Linked DNA regions of Homo sapiens: regions 1, 3, 4 and 5 are each linked to region 2. Evidence: promoter capture Hi-C in 16 types of primary human blood cells and fetal thymus (Javierre and others, 2016). All regions are on one chromosome and are shown on one strand. The core of a region is centred on a gene start or on the middle of the fragment in contact, and the rest is flanking DNA. Distances in the headings are between cores, read along the strand shown. Region 1 overlaps GPC6 (glypican 6). Region 2 holds the start of MIR17HG (miR-17-92a-1 cluster host gene). Region 3 overlaps GPC6 (glypican 6). Region 4 overlaps GPC6 (glypican 6). Region 5 overlaps GPC6 (glypican 6).

Region 1 (2,772 bases), core at 259-2,758, 2.9 Mb after region 2:
TCTCTGTTCTGTTCCATTGGTCTATATGTCTGTTTTGGTACCAGTACCATGCTGTTTTCATTACTGTCACCTTGTAGTATAGTTTGAACTCAGGTAGCATGATGCCTCCAGCTTTGTTCTTTGTCTTGGCTGTTCTTGTTCTTTGTCTTGGATGGGTCTTCTTTGATTCCATATGTAATTTAAAGTAGTTTTTCCTAATTTTGTGAAGAATGTCAATGGCAGTTTGATGGGAATAGCAGTGAATCTATAAATTACTGTGGGCAGTATGGCCATTTTCATGATATTGGTTCTTCCTATCCATGAGGATGGAATGTTTTTCCATTTGTTTGTGTCCTATCTTATTTCCTTGAGCAGTGGTTTGTAGTTCTCCTTGACGCGGTCCTTCACATCCCTTGTTAGTTGTATTCCTAAGTATTTTATTCTCTTTGTAGCAATTGTCAATGGGAGTTCATTTATGATTTGGCACTCTGCTTGTCTATTGTTGGTATAAAGGAATGTTTGTGATCTTTTCACATTGATTTTGTGTCCTGAGACTTTGCTCAAGTTGCTTATCAGCTTAAGGAGTTTTTGGGCTGAGATGATGGGCTTTTCTAAGTATAGAATCATGTCTTCTGCAAACAGAGACAATTTGACTTCCTCTCTTTCTATTTGAGTATGTTTATTTCTTTCTCCTGCCTAATTGCCCTGGCCAGAGCTTCTGATACTATGTTGAATATGAGTGATGAGAGAGGGCATCCTTGTCTTGTACCGGTTTTCAAAGGGAATGCTTCCAACGTTTGCCCATTCAATATGATATTGGCTATGGGTTTGTCATAAATAGCTCTTGTTATTTTGAGATATGTTCCATCAATACCTAGCTTATTGAGAGTTTTTAACATGAAGGGATGTTGAATTTTATCAAAGGCTTTTTCTACATTTATTGAGATAGTCATGTGGTTTTTGCCTTTGGTTCTATTTATGTGATGGATTACATATATTGATTTGTATATGTTGAGCCAGCCTTGCATCCCAGGGATGAAGCTGACTTGATTGTGGTGGATGTGGTTTTTGATGTGCTACTGAATTCACTTTGCCAGTATTTTATTGAGGATTTTCACATCGATGTTCATCAGGGATATTGGCCTGAAGTTTTCTTTTTTTGTTATGTTTCTGCCAGATTTTGGTATCAGTATGATGCTGGCTTCATAAAATGAGTTAGGGAGGAGTCCCTCCTTTTCAATTGTTTGGGGTAGTTTCAGAAAGAATGGTACCAGATCCTCTTTGTACCTCTGGTAGAATTCGGCTGTGAATCTGTCTGGTCCTGGGCTTTTTTTGGTTGGTAGGCTATTAATTACTGCCTCAATTTCAGAACTTGTTATTGGTTTATTCAGGGATTCAACTTCTTCCTGGTTTAGTCTTGGGAGGGTGTATGTGTCCAGGAAGTTATCCATTTCTTTTATATTTTCTAATTTATTTGCATAGAGGTGTTTATATTATTCTCTGATGGTAGTTTGTATTTCTGTGGGGTCAGTGGTGATATCCCCTTTATCATTTTTTATTGTGTCTATTTTATTCTTCTCTTTCCTTTTTAGTTAGCCTAGCTAGCAGTCTATCTATTTTGTTGATCTTTTTCAAAAAAAAAAAAAACAGCTCCTGGATTCGTTGATTTGTTGGAAGGATTTTTGTGTCTTTATCTCCTTCAATTCTGCCCCGATCTTAGTTATTTCTTGCCTTCTCCTAGCTTTTGGATTAGTTTGCTCTTGCTTCTCTAGTTATTTTAATTGTGATGTTAGGGTATCGATCTGAGATCTTTCTAGCTTTCTGATGTGGGCATTTAGTACTATAAATTTCCCTCTTAACACTGCTTTAGGTGTGTCCCAGAGATTCTCGTATGCTGTCTGTTTATTCTATTGGTTTCAAAGAACTTCTTGATTTCTGCCTTAATTTCATTATTTACCCAGGAGTCACTCAGGAGCAGGTTGTTCCATTTCCATGTAATTGTGTGGTTTTGAGTGAGTTAGTTAATCCTGAGTTCTAATTTGATGGCACTGTGGTCTGAGAGACTATTTGTTAATGATTTCAGTTCCTTTGCATTTGCTGAGGAGTGTTTTACTTCCAATTATGTGATCAATTTTAGAGCAAGTGTCATGTGGCACTGAGAAGAATGTATACTCTGTTGATTTGGGGTGAAGAGTTCTGTAGATGTCTATTAGGTCCACTTGATCCAGAGCTGAGTTCAAGTCCTGAATATCCTTGTTAATTTTCTATCTCATTGATCTGTCTAATATTGACTGGGGTGTTAAAGTCTCCCACTATTATTGTGTGAGAGTCTAAGTTTCTTTGTAGGTCTCTAAGAACTTGTTTTATAAATCTGGGTGCTCTTTGATTAGGTGCATTTATATTTAGGATAGATAGCTCTTCTTTTTGAATTGATCCCTTTACCATTATGTAATGCACTTCTTTGCCTTTTTTGATCTTTGTTGGTTTAAAGCCTGTTTTTTCAGAGACTGGGCCAGAGATAATTTTTAAAATCAGAAATAAAAATGTTTTAATGCTCCTAAAAGGGCTGGGACCTTCTGCCTGGGTAATTTCTAGTCCTAAATTGGCCCTCTTTCCGGGTCATTCAGATCCTGGCTTATGTACTCCTCAGTCCCCTCTAGCTGTGCTCTCTTTCCAGCCTCTCCTGAAACACATTCCAGCCCAAGATCTCACAAGCATTTTAATTCATCGATTTGGGTGAAAGCAAAGGACATGTATATTCAGCGTGCCTGTCTCCAGCACTCCACAGGAGAC
Region 2 (2,700 bases), core at 159-2,658:
CAATCTTACTCACAACATCCCCCCGCCTCAACCATTCTAATTTGAAACAGAAGATAAAGTTTTAAAGAAAAAGGCATTGACATATTAGTCAATGCCGACCAAAAGTAACGTAAAATTAGACTTGTAATAAAATTAGCAGTGTTTTCCTCTTTGAAACGTTCATAAATGACTATATTACAGAAATATTAGATATTGTAAAATTTCAGATTTGGCCTTTTATTTTGATTTACAAAGAAAGGAATATCTAGAAACTAGACTCAATAAAAAAAAGAGTAGCAAAACTTTAATCCACTATTTTTTATGTCATCACTAGTTTGACAATTGGATTTAAGCAAAGCATGATAAAATAAGTCAAAGACAGTAAATGACAATACTGTCAAGGTTTGAATGTCAAAAATTTTAACATTGGGGCATTAAAGACATCCTTTGGTAATGTGTGTTTTACAGTTGACTTGTACAATCACGAACCAGTGATATGTGCTTTGCAGTAGCTACTTACTAGATTTAAACCAATTTATAATTGCTGTATTTCTCGTAAATGTTATGAATCCTCACTTTTAACAATTATGTTTCTGAGAATTCCGGAATTTCCTGAACCACAATGTGAAGAAGGAGGTGCTCCTGATTGGGCTTCTTTTCTCAGCTTTGTGGTTGTTTATGAGGTTCTTTCCGAGCTATGCTATTTCTACTGGAGAACCCAGAGTTCTTACTAAATGCAGCTGGGCATGAGAGGGGAGGCTCAGGTACTGCAGCTGTGAAACCTCTGCTCGGGCATGCGTTTTGGTTTACACGCGGCCAGGTTAAGGAAACACATTGCCACGAAGTGTGCATTCACAAGAGTGTCGGGTGTAATGTATTTATTTCTGGGTCTCAAACGATCTTTGCAGCGAGTAATTCTGTTTCGATGTTAAAGTCACTGGATTTTACTTCTCTGGTTCCGGTTGGCCTGGAGCAGGCCCCTAATTACCTCGGAAACCCACCAAGGGCCGGTAAAGTAATAAACTGTGATCGCACAGCGTACACGTCGAGTCCCAGGGAGAGCAGGGCTCCCAGGAAGCCCCGGGAAGCGTGCGCTTCCAGGAGGGTGTGCGGCGCGCGGGGGTCTGCACGCGCGCAGAGCTTGTTAACGGAGGGCGTGCCGGAGGCGTGGCGCGAGGTGTTCGGGCGAGGCGCTCCGCGAGGCTGGCGGCGGTGGGCGGGCCACGGGGGAGCGCGGCCCGGGGAAGGCTGCGCGGCGCCGCCAGCGGCTCCCGGCTCCCGCTCTCCCGGCCGCCAAGAACGAGCCGCCGTGGGCGGGGCCTGCGGTGATTGGCGGGCGGGCGGGGAGGTCGGAAGTACTTTGTTTTTTATGCTAATGAGGGAGTGGGGCTTGTCCGTATTTACGTTGAGGCGGGAGCCGCCGCCCTTCATTCACCCACATGGTCCTTCGAGGTGCCGCCGCCGCCGCCCGACCTGCGCCTTCGCGCCACTTCGCGCCCTCGGGCGAGGCCGAGGGGGTGGGGACGACTACCGCAGCGCCGCCGGGGCTCGCGCTCCTCCGCGAAGCTCTCCTCGCGGGGCGGGCCGGCCGGCCGCACCCCCGGCCTGGGGCCTCCGGTCGTAGTAAAGCGCAGGCGGGCGGGGAGGCGGGAGCAGGAGCCCGCGGCCGGCCAGCCGAAGATGGTGGCGGCTACTCCTCCTGGTGAGTCTGCCCGCCCCTCCGGCGACGGAGGGAAACCTGTTGTGTGCGGCCCGGGTCTGGCGGGCGGGGCGGAGCGGCCCGGGGCGGACTGGCCCGGGGCAGCGTGGCGGCGGCGGCGTGGCCGGGGCGGGTCTCGGCCGTTGGCCGCCCCGGCGTGTGGCAGCCGCATCTGGCTGCCCCCTCGCTCGCCCGCGGGCCGGCGGAGGGGGGCAGGGCCGGGGCGGGAGGGTGGGAGGGGGCGGCGTGCGCGTGGCGGCCGCGCCCGGGACCCGCGCAGACCCTGCCTGGGCCGACCCGAAGGCGGGTGGGCGGACGGCGAACACAATGGCCCCTCGGGGAGAGGACGTGCGAGGCCCGTGCCTTCTCCGGGGCCCGGGGCGCGCGCGGGGCGTGGGGTCTCTGGGTAGGAAAGTTTCTCCCGAGGGCGAGAGTTAAAGCGCCTCCAGAACAAAGCGGCGGCGGCGGCGGCACATGGGGCAGGCCGCGGGCCGGGAGGGGGCGCGCCCACGAGGTACCTGCGCGCCAGCGGGCGGCGTGGCGTGGGCGGGAGCCCGCGGTTCCCCAAACTTTGTACGCGCGAGGGTGGGCGGAGGGGCGCCGAGATCGGCGCGGCCTGGGCGCCACCCCCGCTCCGCGTGGGCTTTGTTAGCCCGCGTGGGCAGCCTCGGGGCGGGGCCCGCAACTTCCCCGCCGTGGCCCTCGGAGGAGGCCGCAGTCGGCCTCAGCCGCGGCGTGGAGCCGCCTGCGCCCGGCCGCTTGCTGGGAGTGTGGCGCGGGAGGGCCAGCCCGGCTCGGCGGGAGCGGCGTCCCCGCCGCCATGTTCCTGCGGGGCGGGCTGCACGGGGGTGAGGGCGGGGGACATGGCGGCGACTGCGCGCCGCCGCCGATTGTTCCCGGCTTAGGCCTCGGGCCGCGTGCGACGGGCACCGCGGCCGCGGAGCCCCCGCCCCTCTGGGCCGGGCTCGGGGGGGCTGGGGGACACAAAGGAGGGGCGGCGCGCCCGCGTCCCCGCCGCACTC
Region 3 (2,700 bases), core at 88-2,587, 2.9 Mb after region 2:
CCAGAAGCCCCGAGCAAACATTACTTTATGTGTCATTGGCCAGACAGCTACAAGCCTGCCCCTAAACCAATAACCAACAAGGAGAATGAGATTTCCATGATAGGGTTAGACTAACCAGAATTTATCTGGGCTGAAGTGTATTTGGTTATTGGAACAAATTAGGGTTCCATTAACATGAAAGATGGGGGAAATGATTATTGAGTGGGCTGGTAGTCTCTAAGGTGATCCAGTTAGACAACTCTAGGCTGGGCTGCTTACATGCTAGCATTGGTTGGTTTAGCACTATCTTTTTTTAAAAGCTAGCTTTCATTGTACTTTTCAAAAATATTTTAACGATTTTTTGGGTGTATGATTCAGTGGCATTAAGAATACTCACTATGTTGTGTAAACCACCCCTATCCAATTCCAGAATTTTTCATTGTCCCAACAGAAACTCCGTGCCCATTAAAAATAATTCCCCATTTCCCTGTTCCCCTTCCTTTTGGTACCTGGCAATGGCCACTCTATTTCCTATCTCTATGAATCTGCCTATTCTAATTACCTCACATAACTGGAATCACATAGTATTTGTCCTTTTGTGTCCTGCTTATTTCACTTAGCAAAATGTTCTCAAGGTTCATTCATATTCTAGCATGTGTCATAATCTTATGATTTTTATGGTTGAATAATAATACTCTATTGTGTGTATACACACATGCACACACACACATACACACACACACGCACACGATATTTTGTTTATCATTAATCTACCAATAGACTTTGTGTTCTACTTTTTGGCTATTGTGAATGATGTTATGGTGTACATGGGTATATAGTATCTACTTAAGTCCCTTTTTTTAGTACTATCTTTAATCTCACTGAAACTTAGGGACAAACGGGATGTTCTTAACCTGTTGCAGATGTTTTATAAGTGATAAAGCATCTGTAAAGTACTGAATATAGAGCACATCACAGGTGCTTCAGAAGTGACACCTGCTGCCATGGTCTGGTCTTTATTGCTGTTTTGTTTGTTATTGTTAGAACACAGAGGCAGAGCTCAAAAAAGGGATTCCTAGCTCAGCCTGAGGATTCAGAAGTATGCAAGCTGTGCTTTGAAGATCAGTTAAGAGTAGTATGTATATCAGTTTGCTAGGGCTGCCATATCAAAGTACCACAGACTGGAGTGGCTTAAACAACAGAAATTTATTTTCTCACAGTTCTGGAGTCTGCAAGTCCAAGATCAAGGTGTCAGTAGGGTTAGTTTCTTCTGAAACCAACCTTGGATTATACTTGGCCATCTTCTCCCTGTGTCTTTCTGTGGTCTTCCTTCTCTGTGTGTCTGCATCCTAATCTCTTCTTCTTATAAGGACATCAGTTATAATGGATTAGGGCCCATCCATATGACCACATTTTACTTTAATCAGCCCTTTGAAGACTCTATCTCCTAATATAACCATATTCTGAGGTGCTGGAAGTTAGGACTTCAGCATATGAATCTGCAGGGAGAAAAGAGCCCACAGCCACATCATAGGGCCTGGTGACTACTGATCTTTTGAAGGAGTTGCCAGCAATCTAAATGATTGACTGAAGAGAAGGGGTCAGATCAGATCTGAGTTTTCTACCTATCAGTCGGGAGCATGGTGGAGGCTGGGTTGAAGGGAGGAAGGGCGGAACACTAGAAACAAGTTGGAGGGTTATGATTATTGTTCAGATATCATCATATGATTCAGGCTAGAACTAAAATAGTGGGTGTATGGGAAAAAAGTTTGGAAAGCAACACCTTAGTGTTAGATTGATTATGAAAATAAGGAAAAGGCGCCGGGCACAGTGGCTCATGTCTGTAATCCTAGCACTTTGGGAGGCCAAGGTGGGTGGATCACTTGAGGTCAGGAGTTCGAAACCAGCCTGGCCTACATGGTGAAACCCCATGTCTACTAAAAATACAAAAATTAGCCAGGCGTGGTGGTGGGCGCCTATAATCCCAGCTGCCTTGGGAGGCTGAGGCAGAAGAATCACTTGAACCCAGGGGGCGGAGGTTGCAGTAAGCCAAGACCACGCCACTTCACTCCAGCCTCAGCAAAAGAGTGAAACTCTGTCTCAAAAATGCAATAATAATAAGGAAAAGGAAAGAGCATTTGTTAATGGTTTGGGCAACAGGGTATGACACTGTTCTTGAAAAAGAGGAAGCTATTTGAAGAATGGGTTCAGCAGGAAGAGCAAGTGCTATGTTCTCTTTTGCACAGGTCATAATTGACAAATACAAGACATTTGAGGGGGACTGTCTACTAGTTGGTTACCTATAAATAAGGATTTAGTGTTTACGTGTGAGGTCAGTAGAAATAGAAATTTTTAAAAATCACAATGAAAAATGGATTAATGGGTATGGGTGAAACTACCCAGAGGGTATATACAGAGGGCTCAGGCCTATACCCTGGAGGAGCTAATGCTTAAGAAATGAGCACACTAATAGTTAATAACTAATGAACAAATAAACAAGAAGTGACCAGAGATGGGCAGGAGGAGACAGAGACATAGAGCCCCATCATGACACACAGAAGAATGTGAAGCACAAGTCAGTAGCGTCCAGTGTGACAGAGAGGACAGACACTGGCAGTTAATCAGTTGTTGGTACTTTAGTGAGAGCAGTTTGTGGCCAAAACCAGATGAATATGAATTAAGAAATTATTGGGAGACAAACAAGACCTGGATGTAGGCTGT
Region 4 (2,700 bases), core at 150-2,649, 3.0 Mb after region 2:
CTTTTGGGCATGTGTAAGAATAGTGAAAATAGAAGGCACATAGACCTCTCTTTCAGTCCTGGCAAAGTTGTGTTTAATTGCACAGGGCTGTATACCCTGGGGAGAAGGAAGAGTACACTCACTCTGGCTACGTAACTCCCTGGGAGATACTAAAGCCCAGTCCACATCACTGCTTTAAGACATGTTCAGAGAATCATATGGATTCTGACAACGAAATAATGTTATGCAACATGTTTTGGAAGGGGAACAATTTTGCACAACTTAATATTAAGTGTGAGTTATATTAAATCATATTGGGGGCGATTTGTTAACAAAACTCTTTTCAACTCTGGATTAAACTCTCCTTTATCCTCAGAAACACTTAAGCAAGAGCTTTGGTGACCTCTGTATCATAAAAAATGAAATGTTACACTTTCAGAGCCAAAATAGGGCTATTAGAGATTTTATATCTATTTTATGGCATGTTGATATGCTTATTTTCTGCTTCAGGCTTTAAAATTTCTTTCAGAATTCCTAGACTTCAGCTAAACCCAAATTGATGCATTCGGTAGATATCAATCTATCAATAAATTATTGATTGAGTTATTCTCTGTTGCATAGCACTTAGTAAAACTAGCTGCTATGTACAATCTACATTATAGCATGTTGTTAGTGCTGGCGTCATCAAAAGGCAAGTGACTGTTTAGAAAAGCCGTTACTTTCCAAGTCAGTTAGACATGCTATGTCTTCTCCAGAGAACAGTACATAGTATAGAGGCTCATGGAATATTAATATTAGCATACAATAAGTGGGAGTTTGATTTTGCAATCTCAGATTGACTATGCCAAAAAAGAATATGTAGAAGGCATATTAACAAATGAATAATCATTGGCCAAATATGCAAATTAAAAACATTAAACATCTGTAGCGTCCTTAATATAGGCCATGTCTAATAGCTCATTTTCCCTTCTTAAGCCAGAACTTTCTGCCCAAACCTTGAACAAATTAAACAGAAGCTTTGTTGTCAGTTATGAACCAGTCAGATGCAAAAGTCCATCTGCGCACTCGTTTCACGGTAACTGTCCTTTATTCTGCTATGTAATTGGTGTTTTGGTAGATTGATTATGGAAGTCTGGATAGACAAGCCACACTAAACTGCTCAAACCATACCTTTAAAAATATTTGTTCATGAGCCTCATCAGTTGACATAGATCTTTTATTAAATTATTGAATAGATTAAAGAACCTTTTCCTTGTCATGGAAAATCTGCGACAATATTTTCTCTTAGCTGTCTGAGATATTTGCACCACAACTCCCAAATGTGATGTTCATGCTTATGAGAGATAGAGCTGAAGAAATAGGATATTTCATAAATACCAGTTTTGATGTATTTGCTGTATAATCAATCAGCTTCTAACAGACTCTGGGGCCTATGGAATACATTTTAAAGGACTGGGAATTTGGCTATTCCCATAACATACTCGGACACTCTTTACTGCTAGCAATAAACCTCAGACATAAACATTGTAGAGAAAAAACAGATGAAAAGGAACCCATCTGAGTGAAAATTGACTTCCCTTCATAACTGTTAAAGGTAGAAAGCTATTTGCAATACACAATAACTTTATTACTAAGTTCATTCACAGTCATTATCATCAAAGGCTCTGACTTCATGGGTATTTTCTTATACCCATAACACTGGCTGAGCTATCGAAAAATAAAAAGTCAGGTTGATAGTCAATGAATGAACCACCACCAGCAGCAGCTCCATTATATTGCTTACTAACAAATAATTTGTTGGAAGTTGGTTTGTGTGATCTCTGTAGAAGCTTTTCCTATGCTGTATTGATCCAGATGGACCAGGCCAGGCAAGGCCACACCTATAAACAGTCCCCAAAATGGCCCACAACAACACAAGTTTATTTCTTGTATGTGCCAAGTGTTCATTATGCATTGGCTGTGAGTCAGCTACATGTGGTCATCACCCTTACTCCAGCATCCGGGGTGACAGAGCAGCCATTATCTGGAGGTTCACCTGTCACAATGGCAGGGGAAATGGAGAATGTGGCAAAGGTGGCTGTTCATGTCTCTACCTGGAAGGGTCACATCATACTGATCACATCTCATTGGCCAAAGCAAGTCACATTATCAAGCCATCAGGAAGTCAGGGACATATGTTCCTATGTGCCTCACATAGAGAGAGAAAAAGGACATGTTAGTGAACAGTAACATTATCGACCACAAACACTATGATGAAGGCAAGATTTTTAAATTGATAAAAATCCATGTCATTACTTTCTCCAACCCTAAGACAAACCTTACATGAAAAGGAACAGAAAAATCAGTCTTTCCTTTATTCACCATATTTATTGTGCACTAACATGAACCATGCGTAGGTGACTAGACCATAATCGAAGAACTCACAACACTTTAGGGCAAACTTGTCCAACCCACAGCCCATGGCCTGCATGTGGCCCAGGATGGCTTTGAATGCGGCCCAACACAAATTCGTAAACATCCTGAAAACATTATGAGATTTTTTTTTAGCTCATCAGCCATCTTTAGTGTTAGTATATCTTATGTGTGTCCCAAGACAATTCCTCTTCTTCCAAAAAACGGCCCAGGGAAGCCAAAAGATTGGACACCCCCACTTTAGAGGATGACAGGCAAAAATAATTATAATTTAAATCAGACCATGCTCTTGTAAAGATTGCCCTGCAA
Region 5 (2,700 bases), core at 171-2,670, 3.0 Mb after region 2:
TGCCATTTGCTTAGTCTGGGAGATGTCCAATTCCTCCCTCAGAAGAGAATCACGCTTTCATTTTCCCTTTGAGGTAGCATGTCCCAAATTACACAGCCAAGGTCTTCATCCCAGGGGGGAGGTTTATTCTCCACAGGATCTGCAGACAGTGAGAAAATGCATCTGATCTTGAAAACTGTGGTTGAACAATTGTGTAAATGTAATTGAAATTCATGTTTTTCCAGATGAAAATGGACCTCCATTCACAACATGGGATTGAATGGGTTTAGGAGATTCAGAAAATCTTGGGTTGTCTGATAATTTCCCAATATTGCTTTACTTCTCCTCCTCCTCTTCCTCCTCCTCCTTCCTCCTACTCCTCCTCCTCCTCTTCTCTTACCTTGGTCCTATTTGGGACAAAAAAAAAATCCCTGGGTCAGAAATTTTACCCTTTCCCATAAACATGACTTTTTGAACCTCCCAAGAGGCAGAAACGAAGCCAAATGTGATTACTCAGCCTCTAAAGTTTCATCATGTAGTGATTCATCAAAGGAGCTGAAGGTACTGCGCATTGCTGAACTTGAATATGCCTTCTGAGAGGCTCCTACCATGTTGCTTTCATGAAGAAATAGTGATCCTTGAAAGGGAATTTCACACTGGAACAGAGCAACTGTGCTGCCTGCTTTCTCTGTGTTCCCTCGATCAGGACTGATAACTCCCTGCATAAGTTTAATCCCACCTTTCCTCTTCTTCTCTCTCTCACATTAGCAATTCTTATGGAAACGATGCAACCCTTGCCTATGTTATGCCTGCCTAGTAATAATTTTTAGGATCATTTTCAAAGATCCTGGGGCCAGCAAAATTTTTACCGTTTAAAGTCTGTTTGGCCACTGGCCAAGTGACCTTGGGCGAGTCAGTTAATTTCTCTGAGCCTCTAACTCAGGAACTCTCAGTCTTGACTGTACATGAAAATTACCTGGGAAACATTAAATACTGATGCCTGGGCCTCGTATTTAGAGATGTTGATCTGTTTGGCTTGGGACTGACCCAGCATCTGTATTTGGAAAGCTTCCTAAAGCATGTCCTTGGGGTGCAGCCAAGGTTGCTAGCCACTTCCCCAAGTCCTTGTTTATCAAAATGTGATTCCTAAACTGGCAGCATCAGTATCACCTGTTAAAAAAATGAAGAATCACAGGTCCTACCCCAGGCCTGCAGCATCAGAACCTGCATTTCAACAAGATCCCAGGTGATTCGTAGGTACATCATGCTAAGAGAAGCACAGCTCAAATCCTTGTCTGTTAAAGGTGGATGATAATAGTCAATATGCAATGAGCTCTGTGCTCCATGTTTTTCCCTGTGTAATCTCAAAAAGGTACAGAGGAGAAACTGCATATTCACCTATATATCTCTTGAGACCTTAGCCTATTTCAAAAAGCTCTGGATACGAGATCTAGTGGGTTTGTTGGGTTGATTGCTGTCCTTTTATGTGGTTTTCTTAAGAGGCTGATTGTTACATTGATATAACCATATAAGACTGTTCTACGAGTTTAGTATCTTCCTCTGATCTCAGAAATTGGGCCTCCCTCCAAATATTTAATAAAAAAATTTGCCTCCTTTTTCTATCACATTTTAGATTGATTTGGAGGGTGCTACATCAACTCTAACTGGCAGATTTAAGAAACTGTATGCAGTGATTTTTAGGATGGGGACTAGTACAATAGGTAAACCAGAGTTGGGGTCAGCTAGTCAGACAAGTTTCTTTGCAGCAATCAGCAAACTATGACCTACGGGCCGAGCCACCTATTTTAATAAATAAAGCTTTATTGGAACACAGCCCTGCTCATTCATTTAGATATTGTCTAATGCTGTACTGACAGTACAATAGCAGCACTTAGTCATCTCGATAGAGACCCTATGGTCTGCAAAGCCTAAAATAATACTACCTATCCTTTCAGAGAGGAAGTTTGCCCGTCCCTGATTTACAGCAACCCCTAAATGAGGCCAGGGTTGAGTGATTGCTGACCATCTGGGCCCATATTTTTAGTTGGTTCCATAGCCCAGTGTACACCCCTAATCCCAAGCAGATTTTAAGCAGCTGTGTGGTTACATGGAGTCAGGCAGAGGGCCCAGAACTGATCTATCTGCATTGTAGCCACAAATAAGAACAAAGAGAGGTTCATCCTTGTCCACGGACAGCAGCATTTGTCTGTCAAGTTGTTGGAAGTATTGCTTGAGTGTCCACCTAAAATGGACCCTTCATAAATTCATGCATTTCCAAATAGTATGAGAAAGGATCCTAGTATGAAAATTCTGAGTTAAACCTGGGAATACAAAGATTTTTAGGCAAGATGGAAAGCAAGGATCACTACTTAGGAAAAGTAAAAGGTGAATTAATTTGGGTACCAGTCTTTTTCAAGCAAGAGATTTCTTCCTCAGGGAAAGTTTTAAGCATTGGAATATAGATATTAAGCCAATTTTGGATTATATCAAAGAGTTCGTCAACTAAAAACATGTGCTCTTCTCTCTCTTTTTTTCTTCTCGTCAATAAGCGATGGAGAAATCTAAAGTCATGTAAGATTTTATTTCTGTTCTCCATCTGAGTCTCAGTCATTGCAAACTATGAGGCAGTAATGCTTTGTGCAACAGGAATTAAAGAAGGGAGAGGTGGATAAGAGCAGGCTGGAAGAATCTCCCCGAACAGGTTCTAGAAACTGGACATTC

Evidence for each region. Contacts are between HindIII fragments. The CHiCAGO score rates a contact against its expected background, and 5 or more counts as called.
Region 1: a fragment that was not itself captured here is called in contact with the fragment with the promoter of MIR17HG in region 2 in 1 of 17 cell types (naive CD8 T cells); the score reaches 5.6 in naive CD8 T cells.
Region 3: a fragment that was not itself captured here is called in contact with the fragment with the promoter of MIR17HG in region 2 in 2 of 17 cell types (naive B cells and total CD4 T cells); the score reaches 5.7 in naive B cells.
Region 4: a fragment that was not itself captured here is called in contact with the fragment with the promoter of MIR17HG in region 2 in 6 of 17 cell types (total CD8 T cells, naive CD8 T cells, non-activated CD4 T cells and 3 more); the score reaches 21.2 in total CD8 T cells.
Region 5: a fragment that was not itself captured here is called in contact with the fragment with the promoter of MIR17HG in region 2 in 9 of 17 cell types (non-activated CD4 T cells, total CD4 T cells, naive CD8 T cells and 6 more); the score reaches 28.5 in non-activated CD4 T cells.

The regions. Positions count from the first base shown.
Region 1 is chr13:94,277,765-94,280,536 of GRCh38, forward strand. All of the region lies in intron 4 of GPC6 (glypican 6), which reads left to right. Among named protein-coding and RNA genes, the nearest start is that of GPC6-AS1, 91 kb to the left of the region's middle. The HindIII fragment of the contact is 7,883 bases long and covers 1-2,772 here.
Region 2 is chr13:91,346,279-91,348,978 of GRCh38, forward strand. It overlaps MIR17HG (miR-17-92a-1 cluster host gene), which reads left to right and starts at 1,409. Exons shown (of 3, transcript NR_197388.1): 1 at 1,409-1,681. RefSeq lists enhancers at 898-977, 2,447-2,700 and silencers at 1,078-1,857, 1,908-2,700. The HindIII fragment of the contact is 6,871 bases long and covers 1-2,700 here.
Region 3 is chr13:94,259,194-94,261,893 of GRCh38, forward strand. The region is part of intron 4 of GPC6 (glypican 6); the gene reads left to right. Among named protein-coding and RNA genes, the nearest start is that of GPC6-AS1, 73 kb to the left of the region's middle. The HindIII fragment of the contact is 2,748 bases long and covers 1-2,700 here.
Region 4 is chr13:94,313,432-94,316,131 of GRCh38, forward strand. All of the region lies in intron 6 of GPC6 (glypican 6), which reads left to right. Among named protein-coding and RNA genes, the nearest start is that of GPC6-AS1, 130 kb to the left of the region's middle. The HindIII fragment of the contact is 813 bases long and covers 994-1,806 here.
Region 5 is chr13:94,329,425-94,332,124 of GRCh38, forward strand. All of the region lies in intron 6 of GPC6 (glypican 6), which reads left to right. Among named protein-coding and RNA genes, the nearest start is that of GPC6-AS1, 140 kb to the left of the region's middle. The HindIII fragment of the contact is 750 bases long and covers 1,046-1,795 here.